Linked DNA regions of Homo sapiens: all the other regions are linked to region 1. The links are contacts of gene promoters, found by promoter capture Hi-C in blood cells and fetal thymus (Javierre and others, 2016). All regions are on one chromosome and are shown on one strand. Each heading gives the region's core, a stretch centred on a gene start or on the middle of the fragment in contact. The rest is flanking DNA. Distances are from core to core; before and after follow the strand shown.

Region 1 (3,069 bases), core at 241-2,740:
AGGAGAATCGCTTGAACCTGGGAGGCGGAGATTGCAGTGAGCCAAGATCGTGCCACTGCACTCCAGCCTGGGTGACAGAGCAAGACTCTAAAAAAAAAAAAAAAAAAAAAAGAGTCATGGAACAGATACTCTTCAGTTACATACTATGTAAAACAATATACCGTTTTTTTCAAAAAGTGATATATAAAAGTTACAACATGGATCTTTACCTGGGTCACAATCTTCTATGGCTTCCCATATGTCTTCTATAACTAAGGATAACAAGTTTATCAAAACAAAACCAAGAAGCCTAAAATATACGATTACACAACCAATATATGCTTTATTTTGAAAGCTGTCATTTTCTCCTTAGAGATTATTTGGTCTTCAATCAAGAACTATGGGGGCGATTTAACTGGAAAAAGTCTGTTTTTAAAAAAGTTTTACACATAATAGTGTGTTTTATTAAAAATTGAAACCGCTTAAACCGCTGATTGCTACCATTCTTGCTTTGACAAAACTATCCCAAGCTAACACGTTGAACTGGTCAAGACTCAACTCTCAATCATTTTACATAGTTTTGGAAAATTACAACAAAACATAACAAAAGCCATTCCACTCTGGTGTGAGGTGCCACGTTTGAAGTAATTATATAAATAAATCATGGCTTTAAAATACAAAATGCTTAACTGCTTTTTTAAAAATTGAAAAAAAAAACACTAGTCTTGAGCCGTGAAGATCATAAATTAAGCTCAAAGCAAATAAATACGCGTTATAAGAAGCATACACTTAAAAGTAGTTACTCTTAGAAAATCCCTGAAATGGTAATGGTATGTATTTCACCTGGGGCAGTAAGGGACTGGTATTTTCGCTTCTTTTCTGGAGAATACAAAACTGAAAAGGCCACACTCTCTGCGGGTCGGCAAAAGAAAGGCTAAGACTGGAGGATCCCTAGATTGGGACAGGAGTAGAGGATTGCCTCAGATCTACAACTAAGTATGATCCCTTGTTTGTGTTTATAAAAACAAACGAAAAACTACACTGCCCCACAGACAGCTCCAAACTCAGTGGAAGAGAGGAGGGCGGGTGGGCGGCAGGTGTCAGGTAGCCTCCGCTCCACGCCTTTGTTGACTGTCGCCGTCCCCCACCCTCCCAGCTCCCGTACGGGGATTCCCGCACCAGGCGACAGGCGCCTCGGGGCGGGGTTCTGAGGAGGTCGCTAAGGACTGCACCGGGGCTTCCGGCCCGTCTGGGAAGCTTGCTTGGCTGGGCCGGGACGGACTCGACAGGGCGCGGAAGGGAGCGGTGGGCGCGCCCTGGGAGGCGAGCGCGTCGCAGCCTCACCTTGGACACCATTTTCTTGAGCTGGCTCTCCGACACCGCCATGACGGCCGCCTGGCGACTCCCTTCCCCGCAGGCAGAGGGTCAGCCGCTGCTGGGCTGCCCCAGACCGTCCCACACAATCGCACACCCCCAACCCGGCCTCAAACAACAGGAAGTCGGCACCACTACACCACTTCCGCTTCCACTACGTCACTTCCGGGCCGCCGTCCTGCGGGCAAGGGTGGACACCGTGTGGGATTGAGAGGGGCCTGGTGGGGTGGGTTCCAACCAACCCGCCCCTCGAGTGCCGGAATCAGCAGGACGAATCGGGTCCCAAAGATGTGGGCAAGACTGTTCCGAGGGTCGAAACTCTGGTTCAGGATAAGATTAGCAGGTATTTCACAGAGTCGACTTAAGGAAGCTAGTGCCGGAGAGGGAAGAAGTACGAAGGGCTTGCCAGTGAGCCTTAATGACTGATTGATCAAGTGGGAGGGCACTGCACTGGCGGTCAGAGAACTGTTCTGTCACTGACTTGCTCTTGTGATAATGGTAGGCTAGTGCATTTCTAGCTCAGGCGCAAATTTCTCCCGACTCTAAAGTCATACACTTGCCTTAGATGATGCCCAGTGGTCCTCTAATTAATGATTTTTTTTAAGCTTAAAGACCTTCATACTATACGTTGGCAAGGGTAAAGTGTAGAGCCTTTGTTTCACAAGAAGCCAGATAGTAATTTCTTCTCCAGGAAATCATTCCGTAAGTCAGAATTTCTCCTCTGTACCCACCCATAAATGATAATACAGGCCGTATTTTACCTGGTGCTGTATTTGTGTACCTGTCCGCTGTCAAAATCCAAGCCCTTGAAGGCAGGCTTCCTTCAGATCTTCATTGCCTTGCACAATGCAAGGGTAGGTACTTCCATCTTAATTGAATTTTTACTTCCCATAAAAATTCTTCATGGTGACTTACATTAGTCATCATTACACATCACCGTCAGTTTTGTAAGCACAGTGTCATTCAAGGTATTGTAAAATTTTGAGTTTGATGATGTGTGACAGTTTCAATTATTTTAGTACAGCCCTAATGAGAACAAGGCCGTAGTATTGATTCCCTTCAAAGTTGGCGTCTAAGTGAAGGTCACATTCACAAGGAGGGCCTAACTGAAAGCATGTGGAAGCATCATTATAAACTGTTGCTAACACGCACAAATAAAGGCTATTAATAGGTATTGTTTTTCTTTTTCTTTTTCTTTTTTTTTTTTTTTTGAGTCACTCTCACTCCATCGCCCAGGCTGGAGTGCAGTAGCACCATCTCGGCTCACTGCAACCTCCGCCTCTGTTTTTCAGCTCCTTAGTTAAGCATACAGCTCCAGTCAAACCAAACTAGAGGTCTGTCTGTCCTTCCATTTTACTTGCTGTTTTATGTCTTTTAAAAGCAAGAAGGTTTTCAAACTGTTCTTAAAGCCACGGCTTAACCAGGAGTCCCTTTAATTAGAGCAACTGTACCTTTGTGAGTTGGAGGAATGCCAGGTAATATATATTATTTATATATTTTATAAATGCAACATTTATAAATATTAAAATAAATTTTACATATATATATATATATATATATATATATATATATATTTTTTTTTTTTTTTTTTTTTTTTTTTTTTGAGACAGAGTTTTGCTCTTGCTTCCCAGGCTGGAGTGCGATAGTGTGATCTTGGCTCACTGCAACCTCTGCCTCCCGGGTTCAAGCGATTCTCCTGCCTAAGCCTCCCGAGTA
Region 2 (2,541 bases), core at 1-2,500, 240 kb before region 1:
CCCTTAACTATAAAGTTGTTAACTGAAATGTTTCTAACCTTAACTTCAGTTTCTAAAAAATTCTCACTTACCCACAAGACCTGCAGATGTCTGTCATTTTCTCTTTGGTTATAAAATCTGCAGGAAGTTTAATTAGATGAAGGATCAGCTGACTGTAACCCCAGGAAAGCAAGTGTGAATGAGGCCTATGAAATGAAAAGGAATCAGTAAATTAGATAGGAAATAAACTCTAGAAAATGCTTATTTATCACCTAATAGGTAAGAATAGAGTTTAACTGCATTCTATTACTACATTTTAAAAACATTGCTATTTGGCTTTTGAAAACTTAAAAATAGCTATTTTTCCTATAACCTGTTTATTTTTAAAGATTAGATACTTTAGGTAATCAAAAGCAAAAGAAATAAATTCTTTTTTCTTCTTTTAATTCTATCATTCCATCACTCACAGATAACCACTGCATATCCTTCCAGACTTTTTGCTAGGAATATAAGACAGGCATTTGGGGGTCTTTTAAGAAGCTTCTCCTGGGAGGAAACGCAAGCAATAGTTCTGACACAAGTACCAGTGTGTACTTTAATTTTATTTTATTTTTAAAGTCCTAGATCAGGTTATGTCTAAAAATTCCTTGACACATTTTTAGGAAGAAAACACATACATACCTATCTCCCTAACCCCCACACCCAGTTTTATCCTCTCACAGGCTTAATCACCAAGGTCTCTTAATGTGGGCCCATGAAAAACCTGCAGGCGGTCAGCTGTGCAAAGTTTTGCATGACTGCATTTTTCTAAAAGGAATCATCAGATTCTTATAGGGTGACCCCAAAAAATTTCAGAACCACTAAGAAATATACTTAATCTCATTACTACCATGACTTGGGTCAGTCTCTTCCATAGCTATTTCTAAAGTGAGCCCAGAATGCCATATGTGAATAAACCAGTTCCATTCCAAAGGAACACTGGAGCTTAATCCTTAGAAATAAGACTCCTAGCCAGGCACAGTGGCTCACGCCTCTAATCCCAGCACTTTGTGAGGCCAAGGCAGGTAGATCGCTTGAGCCCAGGAGATCGAGACCAGCCTGGGCCATAAGGCGAAATCTCATCTGTACAAAAAATTAGCCGGGCAGAGTGGTGTGCTCCTGTCTTCCCAGCTACTCAGGAAGCTAAGGTTGAAGGGTTTAATCACCTGAGCCTAGGAGGTCAAGGCTGCAGGAAGCCATGATCTTAGCACCACATTCCAGCCTAGGCGACAGAGTGAGATCCTGTCTCAAAAAAAAAAAGTAAAGAAAAAAACAAAGAAAGAGGACTTCTTCTGTACCTGGGATAACCTTCATCATCCATTGTGCTGGTGCTTGGTGGAGCATCAAGGGACACTGCCAAAAGCAGCCAATCCAACCTTAAAGACTCTGGTTGCAGAAGGGACTCAAGAAAAGATGACCTAAGAGAAAGTTGGGGAAAAAAGTCACCAATCTTCATGCTAAGAAAGGAAGCATAAAATGTGGGGAGTGTGAAGAAAACCTGATTAAGAGATGAATATAGAAGAAGAAATAACTTGAAAACTCTTCTGCTACAAAATGTCTAGAAATGCTGGTGACCAAGCTCCAAGATAACAAAGAAAATGTCAAAGGGCCAAAAAAGAAAAAAAAAAAGGGAGAGAAAGAGAGAGAGAAAGAAAGAGACAAATAAAAACCAGTGTGGCCAGAGTAGGAAGATCACTGAGGCCATAAGTTTGAGGCTGTAGTATGCTATGATCATACCCGTGAATAGCCACTGCATCCAGCCTGGGCAACATTGTGGCAAATGTGAACCAATCAAAAGAAGAAAGGAGGAAGCCGCTAGTCTAATAAGCCAGGGGCACAGGTCACAAGTGTTACAACCATGGGGAGACAGAAAATCAGACATCAGCCTAAAAAGAGAAGAGCTGGAACTGAGATCTATGTCAATAAAAAGGTGGCAGTGAATCTACTCACTGCAAAGACAATAAGAAGCTTATCTTCTTAGTTCAGGCCCTGAATCAAGGGATTAATTTTGCACTGATCTGAGAATCCCTGAGAGGCAGTGAAGAAGTGTGGTACATGCACATTTGTGATGTGTGCTGTGACATGTGGCAGAATGTTACAAGGCCTCCCAAATCCTCCTCTTCCATAGTATGTGCCTCAACCCCTTGGTAATTAACAGTACACAATGTGACACCTGCTTATAAAAGAGAAACAATGCCCTGTCAAAAGAAAGGAGAGTCTGCAAATATGCTCTCCTTCTCACCGCTGATCTTCAGGCCTTGATTTCACCAGACTGTCTAAATAGGCCAAAAACTCAGCAGGATGATGATGACAAAGTTGTATGATATCCGATGGCAAAATGGATGGAAAGAACTTGATTAAGGATCGAAGAGCAGACTCCCCAAACTTTTCATACAACCTGCATTTAAAAACAAAACACTTTAGTCTCTAATTTCAGTGAAATTATATAACTTGGTTACATTTAGGTTACTTATTACAAATGAAAATAAATATACTAACAGAAGCTGCCTCATATGCAAATGA
Region 3 (3,069 bases), core at 294-2,793, 250 kb after region 1:
CAGTATGAACTGAATTTACCAGCTTCCCCCTGTACTCTGAGGAGGAGGGGGCTGGAGGGGGCTTGAGGAGCCCTCGTCCTGCCAAATTCCTAGATTGGGTGGGATGGGAGCAGGAAAAACACACACAGATTCTTTGCTGGCTTTGGCCACCCTGCTGGGACCAAAGTAGCAGGGGCTAGCTGCATAGGCAGCATTGAGAGAGACCAGGGGCTCATGATTGAAGCCAACACATTCTGTCCTAAATACATCTTTGGGGTGGAGGGTCAGAAATTCACAGTGATTCAGCTCAGACTCTGTGGACCCTCCCAGCCTCTTCTCAGGGCCACTTTGGCTTTCTTTTAAAATCTACACTTTTAAAATTTCATGGTCAGGTTGGTGAGGATGGAAGGGAACAGGAGGAGGTGATCTGAGAGAGAAAGGAAGCAGGAAAAAGGGCAGAAGCAATCTTCGGACCACCTGTTCAGTAACATCTTAGCTCCCGACCGAAGAGGATAACAATGACAGTATCTTCACAACAGAAAGGGCAGCTGTCACTACTGCACCCGGACCACACAGGCCAGGAACTGCTCCAGGGCAGGTGTTAGCAAACTCAGTCCTCACAGCAGCCCCTGGAGGAACGTACTAACGTTTCCTGCATTTTCTAAAGGCGGAAATGGAAATTCAGAGAAGTAAAGTGACCTGCCTAAGGCCACACAGCTAGTTATCACAGAACTTCCCCCATTGCCCACATTCCTAACCTCTCTTTCACTTTTTAGCTTTTGGTAAGAAAAAATATTCCGCAAATACAATAGGAAGAGACAGCATATCATGGCAGTTGCTTTCTATATGTTCTTTTAAAAAATCCTCACCATAAATCTATGTGAGTAGCATGTGATGATCACCATTTTTACAGACGAGAAAACTAAGGCTCAGGGGGTGAAGTGACCCAAGCAAACGAGTGAAGGAGCAAGAGGGAGATCCCTGTGCCTGTGTCCTTGCTTGGGATCACTGCTGTTCTCCCCAGAAGAACGACTGGAAGTCCTGCGCGGGACCACGACCTCGGGTTTCTCCACTTGAAGCAACAGCCCAGGAAGCAGGCCTTGGGAGGCTAGCTTGCATGGGGAGTTTGGGAGGCTGGCTTGGGTGGGGAGCCTGTGTTGGTGGCAGCTGTGTTCCATCAGTGCCATGACGAATACACTCACTGGCCCAGGGCCCAGAAGCCATGGGCTCTAGTCCCAGGCTACTGTGTGACCTTGGGCTAGTCATTTCCCTTATCTGAATCTCAGTAGCTCCAAATGAAAACCAAAGGGCCTGAATGAGATGACCTCTAAGGGCCTTTCCTTAGAGGTCAGGCTTCAATTCCAGGCCTGTCAGGTTTAACGAGGCAGAGGGTGGAACGGCAGTGAACCAGCAGAGGGCGCTCACAGCATCAGGGAAACAGGCCTTGGTCCATGGAGCCCAACCTGCAAGCATGTCCGGCCTGAGCCAATTATTAAGAGAGTCCAGGTTCAGCTGTGATTTGATGCTGTGGATGGTCCTACCTGATTATAAATGGTGCGGCGGTCACGGACCCAAAAGATAGAAAGGCAGGATTTTGGAGTTCAAAGGTTATCCGGTCTGATCCTCTGTTCTCCAAGACTCTGAAAACATTGCATTCTGCTCCCTCTCCCTGCACCTGCCCCCAGGTATGCAGTTTAATTTACCGGGAGAAAACAGGCAATCACAAATGCAAAGGTGTGATCACACTTCTTGTGGGCGTCTTCTGGTATTTCCGTTCAGTTACATGCTTGCTCCTACCTATAATGCTTTAGGATGCACTTTTTCCTCCACTGGAAAGCCCCCTTTTCCCTTCTCTGCTTGGAAAATTCTTATTTGCCTTTTAAGACTCTGTTCAAATGTCACCTCCTCAATAGAACCCTCCCCAACTCCCTTAGGAAGAACTGGGTACTCCGTCTTCTGTTCTTACCCCTCCATACGGTCATTATCTGTTGATGCCAGTCTCCCAGCCTCACACAGAGCTCCCTGGACATAAACCTGTGGTCTGTGATTACCGCAGCTTCCTTTTATTGCAGGCTTATTGTGTGCTGGATGTCGTGCCAAGCACTGCACACGTATGACATCATTCACCTCTCACTAGAACCATATGAGGTAAAAAGTCATCCTCCACCTACACGTGGAGATTGGGACTTGGAGACACTAAGTCACCTGCTCAAGGTCATATAGTTGGTATGTTGCAGAACCAGGCTTCAAACTCAGTTTATCTCAACCCCAGGCTTTATTTAAATCACTAGGTTTACAGCATCTGATATGGACTTTTCTGCTTCCCATGTCCAATACTGTATCTGGCACCAGGCAAATGTTAAAAAAAATGAAAAGTGGGGTAATGTTTGAGCATTTACAAATGGCTCATTAAAAACACCATAAAGGGCCAGGCACGGTGGCTCATGCCTGTAATCCCAGAACTTTGGGAGGCCGAGGTGGGCAGATCACCTGATGTAAGAAGTTTGAGACCAGCCTGACTAACATGGTGAAACCCTGTCTCTACTAAAAATACAAAATTAGCCGGGCGTGGTGGCGGGCGCCTGTAATCCCAGCTACTTGGGAGGCTGAGGCAGGAGAATCACTTGAACCAGAGAGGCGGAAGTTGCAGTGAGCCAAGATTGTGCCACAGCACTCCAGCCTGGGCGACAGAATGAGACTCCATCTCAAAACAAACAAACAAACAAACAACACCATAAAAGTAGTAAACACATAGGCTTTGGCTCTGGACTCCCCCAGTATGAATCAAGGCTCCCCCACTGGCTGCCTGATCTTGGGCAAGATTTTGACTTCTCTGTGCCTCAGTTTCTTCATCTGTGAAGCAAGGATAAATGTGTCTACACTCCAGAGGGTTATAATGGAGATTAAATGAATGTTGATCTTCACACAAAGTTTTTACATGAGATGCATGGAAAATGTGTAGATCAGGGCCAGGAAGCTCCTAAAAATGTTAACTGTCATCATCTTGTGTTTCAGGCTTTGCCTGTTTCCCAGTTAATATAACTTTTCTCCTCCCACGGATAAGGTCCATGAAGACTCTGGGATGAATCT
Region 4 (3,069 bases), core at 413-2,912, 220 kb before region 1:
TGCCAATCATTACTCTAGTGAGACACTTTTAAGAACAGTAATATTTTGATGTTGTTAGTTGTGTGTGCGCAACAAAAAGCTGACAACTCCTGCTCAACGATGTGCCAGGAGCTTTATTAAAGGCTCTGTCTATATTACCTAACTTTGTAGAAGCCAGTCAAGGTAGATATACTATTCTTATTAAAAAGAGAAAAAGCTAAGGCTCAGAGAAATAAAATAATATACCAAAGGCCATTCAGCATGAAATGTATACGAGTCAGAATTTATACTGGATATGCAGGATAGTCTGGCTCCAAAACCTGGACTTTTTTCCTATATAACACAGAATCTACTTCCTCCTCCACTTATCTTCACTAACCTACTCACTATTATCTGGAATCCTAACTATTCCACTTAACTGAATTCTCAAAAAGTCACAGATTCCCAAACTGCCAAACCCAATAACCCTTCATCACTTCCCATTTTCTTAACCCCAAGCAGAAGCCAACCCTGCTAACTGTTCTCTGCTTCTTGAACCTCACCTCCTGGGGCTCCTGGACACTGCATTTTCTTGGTTCTCTTTCTCTCCAGTCCTCTGGTCTGGAGGACTCATTTTTTTCTCCTCATCTTTTTCTATACTTACTCATATAAATTTATCTCATATATTTCATTTATTCTCTCAAGGCTGCTACTATTTTTTATATACCACTGGTAATCTCCACTTCCTAATGCTGTTCAGGACATTCTCCAACTTACAATGTTCTTAATCTAGCCACCTCTCAAGGATCAGAAGTTCTACTTCCCTCTGAAATCCTCCCTTACAGCCCACAACACTCACCCTATTTCTTGCACTCAACCTATTTCTTATACTCTGCTCATATGGCACTTAATCATCTACTGCACTGTCACAACTCTTACTTCTTATTGTTGTTAAACTTTTTGGACAAATAAATCATATCTCTCTAATAAATTATACTCTGAAGAACAGGGACTATATTTCTTTTTCCTTTATGTTTCCAAGAGTACTAAAAATGGTTCCATGTGGCTATGAAACTAATTGATTTTTAACAGGAGTTGGGCCCTCATGTAAGTGTTAAACATTTTGTCAATATGAAAGACCAGATCACTATCCCTACAGGAAAGTAATCTTTGTCATAAAATGCAAGAAATGGTCAGAATCTGAATCCAAAGTAAAATTGAGAAGGCTGCCTTCAAGAGTCAAAGGAGAAAAAAAGCGGGGGGGGGGGGGGTGTCAGAGGATCCCTGAGAAAGAGATACAGGATCATAATTTTGATACTGAACCTGACATTCAGCTTGGAAAATTCCTTAGGAATAGCAACCTAGATTAGATGGGGGGCTGAGGACGGGAACTTAGATAAAAGCTGATACTTGTAATTTATACATTCCTTGTCCCCTTATCCCTTCACTGATAATAAATGGGGACATAAGCCTAACAGCATTGTTTTAGAAGTTCCAGAAAGGAATGTGCCTGAAAGGAAACAAAGTACATAAGGATGCCCCCTCTGGGATTTATGGGTTGCAACAGTAAAAGTCCCATAGGGCACAGTGTACGAATGAAAAACATAAACAAACAGGAATGAAAAGAAGCCCTCCTCTTCATGTTTTCGAAAAAACTCTTTGTTGAATTCACTATCATTTGAGGGTTTTCTATGTGTCTAGCACTGCCCATGAAAAGGAGTTGACAATCTGATGCTGGGATGCATACTCATAATACAGTAAGACAGTGGCAATGATAAAGGAATGAATATGGTTTGACAACAGTACATGCACAGAAATAGGTTGTCTAACGTAAGCCTCTTTGAGGAATCAGCAGAAGTTTCAAAGTGGCGTTAATTGTTGCTTTAGCTGAGGAATAGGCAGAGCCAGATCATCAAAGGCTTTTTGTCTACCATGGTAGGGACTATAACAGCAGCTTTAAATAGCTACAGCCAAAAGAATAACTCTACCAGGAGAGCTAAGTGTATTGTGGCCCGACTACTAGAAAACATATTCTTGGGTACTTTGGGAAGCCGATGCAGGTGGATTGCCTGAGCTCAGGAGTTCGAGACCAGCCTGGGCAACATGGTGAAACCCCATCCCTACTAAAATACAAAAAATTAGCCAGGCGTGGTGGCGTGCGCCTGTGAGTCCCAGCTACTTGGAAGGCTGAGGCAGGAGAATTGCTAGAACCTGGGAGGCAGAGGCTGCAGTGAGCTAAGATCGCACCACTGCACTCCAATGTGGGTGACAGAGCAAGACTCCGTCTCTAAAAAAAAAAAAAAAAACTTGGGTAAGGGACTTCCCAATACCCCGCACATCACATCATAGTCAACAAATATTTATTAAGTATCTATCATGTGCCAGGCATTAGGCCAAGCATTGAAAAAATAATAGTCAACAAAACAGAAATAAAGCCCTCATGGAGCTTACTGTTTAGGGTAAGACATGTATAAATATTATATTAATATGTAATTATAAACTGTGACAAGTGCCACAAAGGAAGAATGCTAAAGGAGGAAGAGTTTTTAATATGCTTTATCTAATTATGGGTAAATAAATAAATGTCTTTCTCTAGTAACTTTCATGAAGAATTATGGAGTTACTAAAGTGTTATAATGTCTATAATTCACTTTTTTTTTTTTTTTTTTGAGACAGAGTCTTGCTCTGTGGCCCAGGCTGGAGTGCAATGGCACGATCTCGGCTCACTGCAACCTCTACCTTCCAGGTTCAAGCGATTCTCCTGCCTCAGCCTCCCTACTAGCTGGGATTACAGGAGCATGCCACTATGCCTGGCTAATTTTTGTATTTTTAGTAGAGACGGGGTTTCTCCATGTTGATAGGCTAGTCTTGAACTCCCGACCTCAGAAGATCTGTCCGCCTCGGTCTCCCAAATTGCTGGGATTACAGGCATGAGCCACACCCGGCCTTATAATTCACTTTTAAATACTTCAGTGTAGGAAGTATGACAAATACATGAACTGGTTTTTATCCTTACCCTTAGAGGCAATTAGTTAACACTTCAATTATTTTTAAAAATCACAAAGAGTGGTTAGTTAGCCTTTCAAAGAACTGAATCAGGTGTTCACACTC
Region 5 (3,069 bases), core at 423-2,922, 210 kb after region 1:
GCTAGGAACTGCTGTCATTACCACCCTTTCTCTTTGGGTTTCTAGAGGGTCCAGCACAACATGTGGCCAGGCAGGGCAAAGGACCAGAGAGTGCTGTGCGAGGAAATGTACTCGCCTCTGGCCTCACCAGGGCAGCGCTTCCCTTCAGCCAGCAACCCCCAGCCCTCTGTCCCACCTCCTCCAGTCCTGTCACCCCTAGAGGCCCAGCTGAGGGTCCTCCTCAGGGTGAGGGGATCCCCAGGTGAAGCTGAGCCTGCCCCCATCCCTCTGGGACAGTGAGTACTCACTGGGAAGTATGGTTTTGTACCGGTTCTTCCGCACCAGCCCAGGGATGTCGTACTCTTTCGGATCCACAAAGTTCATGGGGATTTCCTGTGGAAGGAGGACACGGGGTGTGAGCAGCTATGGGCCCTCACAGATGTTTGAATCCAGGGGCTGCTGTGCCCCCAACTCCTAGCCCAGGGGCTGGCTTGAGTGCACGCATTCATTCAACAAACATTTACTATTAAGAGAGTTAGTGCTCACGACGCATTCAGAACAGTGCCTGGCACATGCTGAGTGTGTAATAAATATGATAATGACTATTGTTTATGGAGAGCCAGCCTGCCATATATAGACAGTCAATAAATAGCTGATGAATGAAGAAAAAGACAAAAAGTGACCTGGCCAATGGCTGCCTTCTTCCATGCTCCCTGGGCAGCATTCCTCCCTGGGCATCCCTATCTCGGGACCTAGGTTCGTGCTGCTTGCTCTGTGGTAACACACACCCCATCCTCATCTCATGTCCCGCCTCCTCTGAGAAGCCTTCCCTGATTCTCCAGAAGGAGAGAAGCCTCTTTCTGAGATCCCAGGAATATCTGCACCTCCCAACCACTGTCTGTGTCCAGAGCTCTGAGTCTGAACTTCTCTCCTGGCATGTGAGGGCTTCTTGAATCTGGCCTCTCTTTACTTCCAGTTAGGCCTGTTTCTCCCCTGTTGTTAATCTGCTGTTCTCAGTCCTGCCTCTGAGTCTGAGCTTGTGACGTTCTGCCTCCTGAGGGCGCTGGTCTCCCCTACCCCCATCTCTCCAAGTTGTTCCCACCCTTTAAAGTTCACCTCTGCCCGGGCGCGGTGGCTCACGCCTGTAATCTCAGCACTTTGGGAGGCCGAGGCAGGCGGATCACAAAGTCAGGAGTTTGAGACCACCCTGGCCAACATGTTGAAACCCCATCTCTAATAAGAATACAAAAATTAGCTGGACCTGGTGGCGGGCCCCTGTAATCCCAGCCACTAGGGAGGCTGAGGCAGGAGAATCGCTTGGAACTGGAAGGCGGAGGTTGCAGTGAGACAAGATCGCACCACTGCACTCCAGCCTGGGCAACAAGAGTGAAACCCTGTCTCAAAAAAAAAAAAAAAAAAAAAGTTCACCTATGAGTCTGTCTCCTCCTGACATCTTCCGGGATGACTCTCCATGCCTCTTGCCTCTGCATTTCCTTCCAGTCTGTCCACCAGCTTAGCCCCTGACTGCACCTAACTTCACACTGTTCATTGTTTTTGGACACACTAAGTATGGGCTTTGTAAAATGAGGATCATCACACTTTCCAGGATTGTGAAAATCAAAATAAAAATACAACACGTGCAAAACTGCCCCCAGAGTGGGTGCTCAGGCCACGCTCCTTCCTCAACAAAGACCCACCGGACAGGAAATGAGGTAGAGGATGTGATTCTTTCTCGAAGGGGAGATGATGGCAGTGGGAGCTCAGAGAAGGAGCTGAGGCTGGGGTGGTTAAAGAAGGCTTTCTAGAGGCATCTGGAGTGAGTGATGATGTGAGCAAAGGCACAGGAGGAGAAAGGCACGGACGAGACTGGCCCAGTTTGAAGTGGACAGTCCCTGCAGGGGTGGGGCATGGGGCATAAGGCTGGAAAAGGAGGCTGGGGCCACACGAGGTAAGGGGTGCTGATGGTGTATGCAGGTGGTACCAAGTTCTGGAGAACTTGGAGCAGCAGATCAGATGATGATGGAGGTCTTCTCACAGGGGAGAGCTACCCGGTCCAGACAGGCCCAGGGCGGAGGCCAAAGGAAGGGAGCTATGAGGGAGGAGGCACCTGCTTCTGTACCCCTGTGGCTTCTACCAGGAGGAACTCACCCCAGATACTCTTGGCCTCTTGCCTTTTCCTGCTCACAGAAGTGAGGAGTTACCTGTTTGGTGAATTTGGTTGAGGAATGGAGCTTTGGAGCCTCAGCCCCTTCCTTCCTCCTCCTCTCAGGGCCCTCCTGCCAGGAAAGAATTATAGGGGTGCCCCCATGCGGCAAGGTCCGAGATGTGCCGGCACCCCTGTGGAGGGTGGAAAGTGCATGTAATTCTGGGTCTCAGTATCGGGAGGCTCACTCTTGCTGTACCCTGCTAAGCCACATTTCCAACCTGTATTTTATTGACAACAAAGGTGATATTGTAATCTCCTATGCCTTAGCTCTTAACTGGCTGAGCACTCAGGCAGGTAAACAGGGGTGCCATTTATTGAGCCCCTCAAAGTCCAATAGGAGGCAGCTGGAGGCTGCTGCAGAAGCCAGGGTGGAGGTGATTAGGACCTAAGCTAGGGCCCCAGGGGTGGTAACGAGGGGAGGCCACTAGAGAGATTTCAAAGGCAGAAGAACAATGCTCGGCAGGAGGAAAGTGGGAAAACAGAAGAGTTAGAAGTGAAGGTTCTCTGTGGCTTTCAGAGCACAGCACTGGGCAATAAAGACTTAGCATTGTCACTGTACCTCCATCACCTGGCTGGGTGCTCTGCACATGTTATAAGTCTCTTTAATCTTTGCAACAATTCTATTATTTTCATCCCCATTTTCCAGATGAGGAAACTGAAGCTCAGAGGGAAAGCAGCTTGCCCAAGATGGTGGGAGAGCTGATAATAAAGTGATACTAATCTACTGCAGATGCTGAGTTCCAGGCACCACGCTCCACCACCTGGGCAGGTGGATGATTGACATGGGTCTGCACACAGTGGGGCGACCGGCTCAAGGGAACTCACAAAGAATTCCGCCTGCAGCAGGAAAGGGTCCAGGGCCTTTTCATGAAGCTCTTCTGCTT
Region 6 (3,069 bases), core at 185-2,684, 190 kb after region 1:
ACTATATTGCCCAGGTTGGTCTTGAACTTTTGGTGTCAAACGGTTCTCCTGCCTCAGCCTCCCAAAGTGCTGGGATTACAGGTATGAGCCACCACGCCTGGCCTAGAGTCTATGTTCTTAATCACTATGCTACACAGCCCCAAGGCACTTATTATCTCATAGTCCTCTCCCTTACATCTGATGCTTCCTCCCTCCATTGACTCCCATCCCCACACAATCCTTTCTTGCACAGTCCCATAGTCCTCTCTTCAATATCCCCATGGATCCCAACCCTGGCCATTCCTCTCTTCCAACCCGACATGTCCTCCTTGTGCCCTTGCATGCCCCCACTCATACCCAGCACTGTGAGCTCTGCACTCATCCGCTTATCGCCCACGGACAGGCTGTAGATGCCAGCATCGTTCATGTTCACGTTGCTAATAACCAGCATGTACTTGGTGCCCATCTGCTTCACATCGTACTTGCCCAGGGAGTACTGGATCCTCAGTGGCTCAGTACCCTGCCTCATGGAACAGGTAGGAAAGCTGATGAAGGGCTTTAGGAGGAAGCTTCCAGAGGTCTCCATTCCCCAGCGCCAGCCTAAGCTGGAGGGTGCATGTCCAACCCTCTAAAGACAGAGATCCCTATGATCTCTATAGCCTCATCATCTGGTTTGGTGGGATCCAAGATTCCTGCCTCCCCACAGGCCTCCTCACAGGCCCGAGCTCTTAATATGCATGAGTTCATTAGATGCTTTCCCTTAGAGGCACAGATCTTCAGTGACCTTCAAGACTGTCTAATCTAGCCTTTCAATTTAAAGATGGGTAGACTGAGGCATAGAGAGAGGAATGTGACTCTCTTACATCACACAACAAAGGGGTGAAACAGTTAAGAGTAGAGCCCAATTCCAGCCTCTTTCAACCATACCAGGAGGCATCCTCTTGATGGGATGGAAGAGAGGCTATGGCTTATATACAGTGAGAGAAGGGGGTAGAGAGGAAGAGATATTGCCAAGGTGGACCCTGGCTAGGCATCCCCCACCTTGATCCATATCATCTTGACATTGGGGTCTTTCAGTTCCATTATGCAGTCAAAGACCACTGTGGTGTCAACCTTGGTCTCTTTGTCTTCCAGGGGCTTCAGAATCCGGATGGCCTGAGAGATTATGATAATAAAATGACAAGTGTCAGTGGTACCCAAAGCCTGCCCAGACTGTGTCCTCAATCCTGGAGAAACTCTTAAGCATGTGGGGAGAAATGACTAGGCTCATTAGATAACAACGTGCAGTGCTCCAGTGATCAACTGAAAGATTTAGGAGGAGAGGAACATTACGGGGGATGAGTAAAAAACCATCATTCATGGAATAGTCACTATGTACCTGGGCCCATTATATAGATTCCCTAATTCCAGTGTAGAGGCTTAATGAGTTGGTTGAGTGAACCAATGAATGACAGCAACAACACAAAAACAAATGAAAGAAGGAAGTATAATTTTCATTTTGTAGATGAGGAAACTGAAGCTCAGAGAGATGCCCAAGTTCACACAGCTAATAAGGCAGTACAACTGGGATTTGTTTGTTTGTTTGTTTTGAGACGGAGTCTTGCTCTGTCACCCAGGCTGGAGTGCAGTGGCGTGATCTTGGCTCACCGCAACCTCCACCTCCTGGGTTCAAGCAATTCTCCTGTTTCAGCCTCCCAAGTAGCTGGGATTACAGGTGTGTGCCACCACACCCAGCGGTTTTTTTTTGTTTTTTTTTGTTTTTTTTGTATTTTTAGTAGAGACAGGGTTTCATCATGTTGGCCAGGCTGGTCTCAAACTCCTGACCTCAGGTGATCCACCCACCTTGGCCTCCCAGAGTGCTGGGATTACAGGCGTGAGCCACTGCACCCAGCCTAGAACTGGGATTTGAATCTCGGTCTATCTGACTCCAAAGTCCATGCAAGTATGTTTGGGAGTGGTGAAGACAGAAGTAGAAGGAAGGTGACTTGTGCTCCCTTGCTGCTTTCACAGTGGAGAGTACGCCTCTGAGTATGTGTGTGCAGAACTGGGGAGACCTTCTTGCTGAGAAATACACAGGCACTAGCACTTTGGGTGAAGCCCTGCCCCTAGCCTGCAGGCCCCTGCTCCCTGCAGGGTACTTACCTCCACCTCTACTTTCTTCTTCATCTCTTTGAGCTTCCTGAGCAGCCCCCGAAAGTCGGTGAAACCATACTCCATGCACACCTTCTCAAAGTCTTTCTTGGGCACTTTGGACAAAATCTCCAGCATCTCTTTCTCATTTGCCACCTTCTTCTGCTTCTTCTTGGGAGCAGGGGGTGCCCTAGGAGAAGGAGGAAGGGACTAAGCTTGTACACAATGCCTCTCCAACCTTGAGAAACCCCTCCCTACTCCATGGATTCTTGGAACTCAGGGCCTTGTTGAGAGGCCTTTGAGAGGCTTTGGCCTGGATGAGGAGACAATATCTTGGGCAGAAGGACCTGCCAGCCTCACCTCTTCTTCAGCATCTTTTTGAAGTCCATTTTCTCTTGACCTGAGGATAGACAGAGGGACAGGTTCAGACAGGGGGAGTCTGGTCCCTAAGAAGAAAGGCCAAGAGGAAGGGGCCAACTCACCTTCTGTTACCAGCAGAGATACGGTATAGATGGCATCTGCATGGTCATTGCTTGCAATGCACTTATAGTTGTCAGAGTCATCCGAAGTCAGTGGCTCCAGCTGGATCAAAGTCCGGCCATTAGTGGGGGAAGGAAAAGGAACCACAGGGAGACTTTCTGTCAGATAAGGTAGGAGGCCTTTTTTTTTTTTAGGGGACAATAGGAACTGACTGTTGGGTATATGTGTGGAGGATTGAGCAGCCTGTATGATTTGGAGGTACCAGCTAGCAGTCAGTGTGAGTATGCATGTTTGTAGCCTGATTCCATAGCAATAAAACTGTCTGCTTCTCCATCGGACTCTCCCCCTTGGCTGTGAGCTCCCAGAAGGCAGGGCTTCCCCTGCCTTGTAACTCTATCTGCAGTTTCTGGCATCATCTGGCTGAGACTTCATTTAATACAATTTACTCCTCTGTACCAGACACTGGGCTGAGCCCCAGAA
Region 7 (3,069 bases), core at 205-2,704, 180 kb before region 1:
CCAGCCATGTTTTCCTCCTGTTATGTCCAGCATTCAGTGTATCAACAAGCCTCGTACAATACACCTCTCATCTGTGGGATCTACACAAACGCTTACACCCTTTCATGTTTACGGTATCATCATCTTTGGCCTGTTTGCTTGCCTTAGCCTTCTAACCTTTATTTTTGCTATCTTGTCTTTTATAGTTTATTCTCCCCTAGCAGTAATAATTATAATATAGGCCGGGCGTGGTGGCTCGTGCCTGTGATCGAGCACTTTGGGACGCCAAGGTGGGTGGATCACCTGAGGTCAGGAGTTTGAGACCAGCCTGGCCAACATGGTGAAACCCCATCTCCACTAAAAATACAAAAATTAGCCGGGCCTGGCGGCACATGCCTGTAATTCCAGCTACCCAGGAGGCTGAGGCAGGAGAGTCGCTGGAACCGGGGAGGCAGAGGCTGCAGTGAGCTAAGATTGCACCACTGCACTCCTGCCTGAGTGACAGAGTGAGACTGTCTCAAAAAAAAAAAAAAAAAAAAGGATTATAATATAAATCAGATCCTAATAATCCCCTATGTGAATCTCTTCATTATCTTCTCATTGAGCTTAGAATAAAATCAAAACTCCTACAAGACTGCTAGATTTGGCTCCTGCATACTTCTCAGTTGGGGCCACTTCTACTCATTCATGCTTTAGACATAATGACCATTCACTTCCATGCCACGCTTTTTCTACCTCAGGGCCTATGCACTTAACTGATCTTCTACCTGCTTGTTCCCTAACCAGCTTCTGCCTATCTTTAGATACCTGTTCTAATGTCATTTCTCGCCAGGTGGGGTGGCTCATGCCTTTAATCCTAGCACTTTGGGAGGCTGAGGTGGGAGGATCGTTTGAGTCCATTGTGAGACCACATCTCTAAACTTTTTTTTTTTTTAATTTAAAAATTAGCTGGGCATAGTGGTATACACTTGCAGTCCCAGCTACTCGGGAGGCTAAGGTAGGAGGATCACTTGAGCCCAGGAGGTCAAGGCTGCAGTGAACTGCGATTGCACCACTGCACTCCAGCCTGGGCAACAGAGCGAGAACCTGTCTCAAAAAAAAATAAAAATATAAATTTAAAAATTAAAAATTAAAAAGTTGCGTGCTTCAGAGAGGCTTTCTCTAACCACCCACAAATTCAGTCACTTCATCATGTTACCCTCTGTTTTATTCAATGACATTTTCCACTTTCAAAAAATATTGTGTTTACCTTGTTTTACTTGATAATTGCATTCACACTCCTCTCAGAGTGTAATCTTCATGAAGCTGACTTTGTTCTGTTTATTGGCCTGTTCCTAGCGCATGTCATGTAGTAATAATCACTTAGTAATTATTTGATACATTGATGAACAGCATATGGATCTTTTTTTTTTTTTTTTTGAGATGGAGTCGTGCCCTTTTGCCCAGGCTGGAGTTCAGTGGCGTGATCTCAGCTCACTGCAATCTCTGCCTCCCGAGTTCAAGCACTTCTCCTCCCTCAGCTTCCTGAGTAGGTGGGATCATAGGCACACACCACGCCCAGCTAATTTTTGTATTTTTAGTACAGGGTTTCACCACGACCAGACTGGTCTTGAATTCCCAACCTCAGGTGACCCACCCACCTCAGCCTCCCAAAGTGGTGGGATTACAGGCGTGAGCCACCACACCCAGCACATATGAGTTTTTTTTTTTTTGAGACGGAGTCTTGCTGTCACCCAGGCTAGAGTGCAGTAGCACCATCTCGGCTCACTGCAGGCTCTGCCCCCTGGGGTTCATGCCATTCTCCTGCCTCAGCCTCCTGAGTAGCTGGGACTACAGGCGTCCGCCACCTCGCCCGGCTAATTTTTTGTATTTTTAGTACGGAAAGGATTTCACCGTGTTAGCCAGGATGGCCTCGATCTCCTGACCTCATGATCCACCCGCCTCAGCCTCCCAAAGTGTTGGGATTACAGGCGTAAGCCACCACGCCTGGCCCATATGAGTCTCATGATCTTTCTTTCACCTTTTTAGCCTCACCAATTCCTGGACCACCGTTATTAGTGTATTGAACCATATACAGTCTCATGACACAATATGTACTACATTGCTGCTTTGCTTGTGTTTTGTTTTATTTTTAAATAGAGACAAGGTCTCACTGTGTTGCCAGGCTGGACTTGAACTCTTCGGCTCAACAGTTCTTCTGCCTCAACCTCCCAAATAATCAGGACCACAGTGCCTCTTTGCCTTTGTTTAAGCAGTTTCCTCTCCCTGAAATGTTATTGTCTCCGATCTACTTGGCAAGCACCAGTTTATCTTATGGTTCTCTGTGAACCTTTTTCGAACCCTCTTCTCCAGTAGGATTGATTAGTAATTCTCTCCAGCCCAGCTTCCCACTAACTAGTATTTAAGCTCCTATGGCATGGGGTCTTAATCAATTTTGTATCTACATGGTCTAGCAAGTAGCGTGCACTCAATACATGTTTTAAAATATAATCTCATTTTATTCTCTTTTATCCTACTTTATAGAGCTTGGAAAAGTTTATCTTGCCTAGATTAACGTTAGAAAAAGAATTTGACTCTTTATCTTTCTGAATCCATAGTCAGTGTTTTTCTCACTATATTCTATTCTTTTTATTTACTTTTTTTTTTTTTTTTTTTTTTGAGACAGTCTCACTCTGTCACCCAGGCTGGAGTGCAGTGGTGCAATCTCAGCTCACTGCCACCTCTGCCTCCTGGGTTCAAGTGATTCTCCTGCCTCACTCAGCCTCCCCAACAGCTGGGATTACAGGTGTGTGCCACCATACCTGGCTAATTTTTGTATTTTTGATAGAGATGAGGTTTCACCATGTTGGCCGGGCTAGTTTTGAACTCCTGACCTCAGGTGACTCGCCCACCTTGGCCTCCCAGAGTGCTGGGATTACAGGTATCCTGACTCTATTGCTTTTATTTAACGTTTTGATAACTAGATCCAAATTGTTCTTTAAAAGAGAAATGCAGACCACGCACGGTGGCTCACACCTGTAATCCCAGCACTTTGGGAGGCCAAGGTGGGCGGATCACTTGAGGTCAGGAGTTCAAGACCAGTCTGACCAG

What was found. Contacts are between HindIII fragments. The CHiCAGO score rates a contact against its expected background, and 5 or more counts as called.
Region 2: a contact is called between a fragment that was not itself captured here and the fragment with the promoter of TSG101 in region 1, in 6 of 17 cell types (total B cells, monocytes, naive B cells and 3 more). The highest score is 7.6, in total B cells.
Region 3: a contact is called between a fragment that was not itself captured here and the fragment with the promoter of TSG101 in region 1, in 1 of 17 cell types (naive CD4 T cells). The highest score is 5.1, in naive CD4 T cells.
Region 4: a contact is called between a fragment that was not itself captured here and the fragment with the promoter of TSG101 in region 1, in 1 of 17 cell types (total B cells). The highest score is 5.6, in total B cells.
Region 5: a fragment that was not itself captured here is called in contact with the fragment with the promoter of TSG101 in region 1 in 6 of 17 cell types (activated CD4 T cells, naive CD4 T cells, naive CD8 T cells and 3 more); the score reaches 11.1 in activated CD4 T cells.
Region 6: a fragment that was not itself captured here is called in contact with the fragment with the promoter of TSG101 in region 1 in 9 of 17 cell types (naive CD4 T cells, total CD4 T cells, naive CD8 T cells and 6 more); the score reaches 16.0 in naive CD4 T cells.
Region 7: a fragment that was not itself captured here is called in contact with the fragment with the promoter of TSG101 in region 1 in 1 of 17 cell types (total B cells); the score reaches 5.1 in total B cells.

What each region holds. Positions count from the first base shown.
Region 1 is chr11:18,525,452-18,528,520 of GRCh38, forward strand. It overlaps TSG101 (tumor susceptibility 101), which reads right to left and starts at 1,491. Exons shown (of 10, transcript NM_006292.4): 1 at 1,324-1,491. The coding sequence starts at 1,365. RefSeq lists an enhancer at 1,651-1,760. The HindIII fragment of the contact is 722 bases long and covers 1,235-1,956 here.
Region 2 is chr11:18,285,275-18,287,815 of GRCh38, forward strand. It overlaps HPS5 (HPS5 biogenesis of lysosomal organelles complex 2 subunit 2), which reads right to left. Exons shown (of 23, transcript NM_181507.2): 18 at 2,261-2,416; 19 at 1,317-1,436; 20 at 72-185. Among named protein-coding and RNA genes, the nearest start is that of SAA1, 20 kb to the left of the region's middle. The HindIII fragment of the contact is 1,467 bases long and covers 518-1,984 here.
Region 3 is chr11:18,774,475-18,777,543 of GRCh38, forward strand. The region is part of intron 1 of PTPN5 (protein tyrosine phosphatase non-receptor type 5); the gene reads right to left. Among named protein-coding and RNA genes, the nearest start is that of PTPN5, 16 kb to the right of the region's middle. RefSeq lists an enhancer at 1,208-1,502. The HindIII fragment of the contact is 8,027 bases long and covers 1-3,069 here.
Region 4 is chr11:18,301,608-18,304,676 of GRCh38, forward strand. The region is part of intron 8 of HPS5 (HPS5 biogenesis of lysosomal organelles complex 2 subunit 2); the gene reads right to left. Among named protein-coding and RNA genes, the nearest start is that of HPS5, 19 kb to the right of the region's middle. The HindIII fragment of the contact is 3,514 bases long and covers 1-3,069 here.
Region 5 is chr11:18,737,593-18,740,661 of GRCh38, forward strand. PTPN5 (protein tyrosine phosphatase non-receptor type 5) reads right to left here. Exons shown (of 15, transcript NM_006906.2): 8 at 3,011-3,069; 9 at 288-372. IGSF22-AS1 (IGSF22 antisense RNA 1) reads left to right here. Exons shown (of 3, transcript NR_186353.1): 3 at 2,832-3,069. Among named protein-coding and RNA genes, the nearest start is that of IGSF22, 13 kb to the left of the region's middle. The HindIII fragment of the contact is 8,092 bases long and covers 1-3,069 here.
Region 6 is chr11:18,717,595-18,720,663 of GRCh38, forward strand. It overlaps IGSF22 (immunoglobulin superfamily member 22), which reads right to left. Exons shown (of 23, transcript NM_173588.4): 5 at 2,592-2,691; 6 at 2,470-2,509; 7 at 2,122-2,299; 8 at 1,021-1,134; 9 at 337-499. All of the region lies in intron 2 of IGSF22-AS1 (IGSF22 antisense RNA 1), which reads left to right. Among named protein-coding and RNA genes, the nearest start is that of IGSF22, 7.1 kb to the right of the region's middle. The HindIII fragment of the contact is 1,776 bases long and covers 547-2,322 here.
Region 7 is chr11:18,344,119-18,347,187 of GRCh38, forward strand. The region is part of intron 7 of GTF2H1 (general transcription factor IIH subunit 1); the gene reads left to right. Among named protein-coding and RNA genes, the nearest start is that of GTF2H1, 23 kb to the left of the region's middle. The HindIII fragment of the contact is 5,791 bases long and covers 1-3,069 here.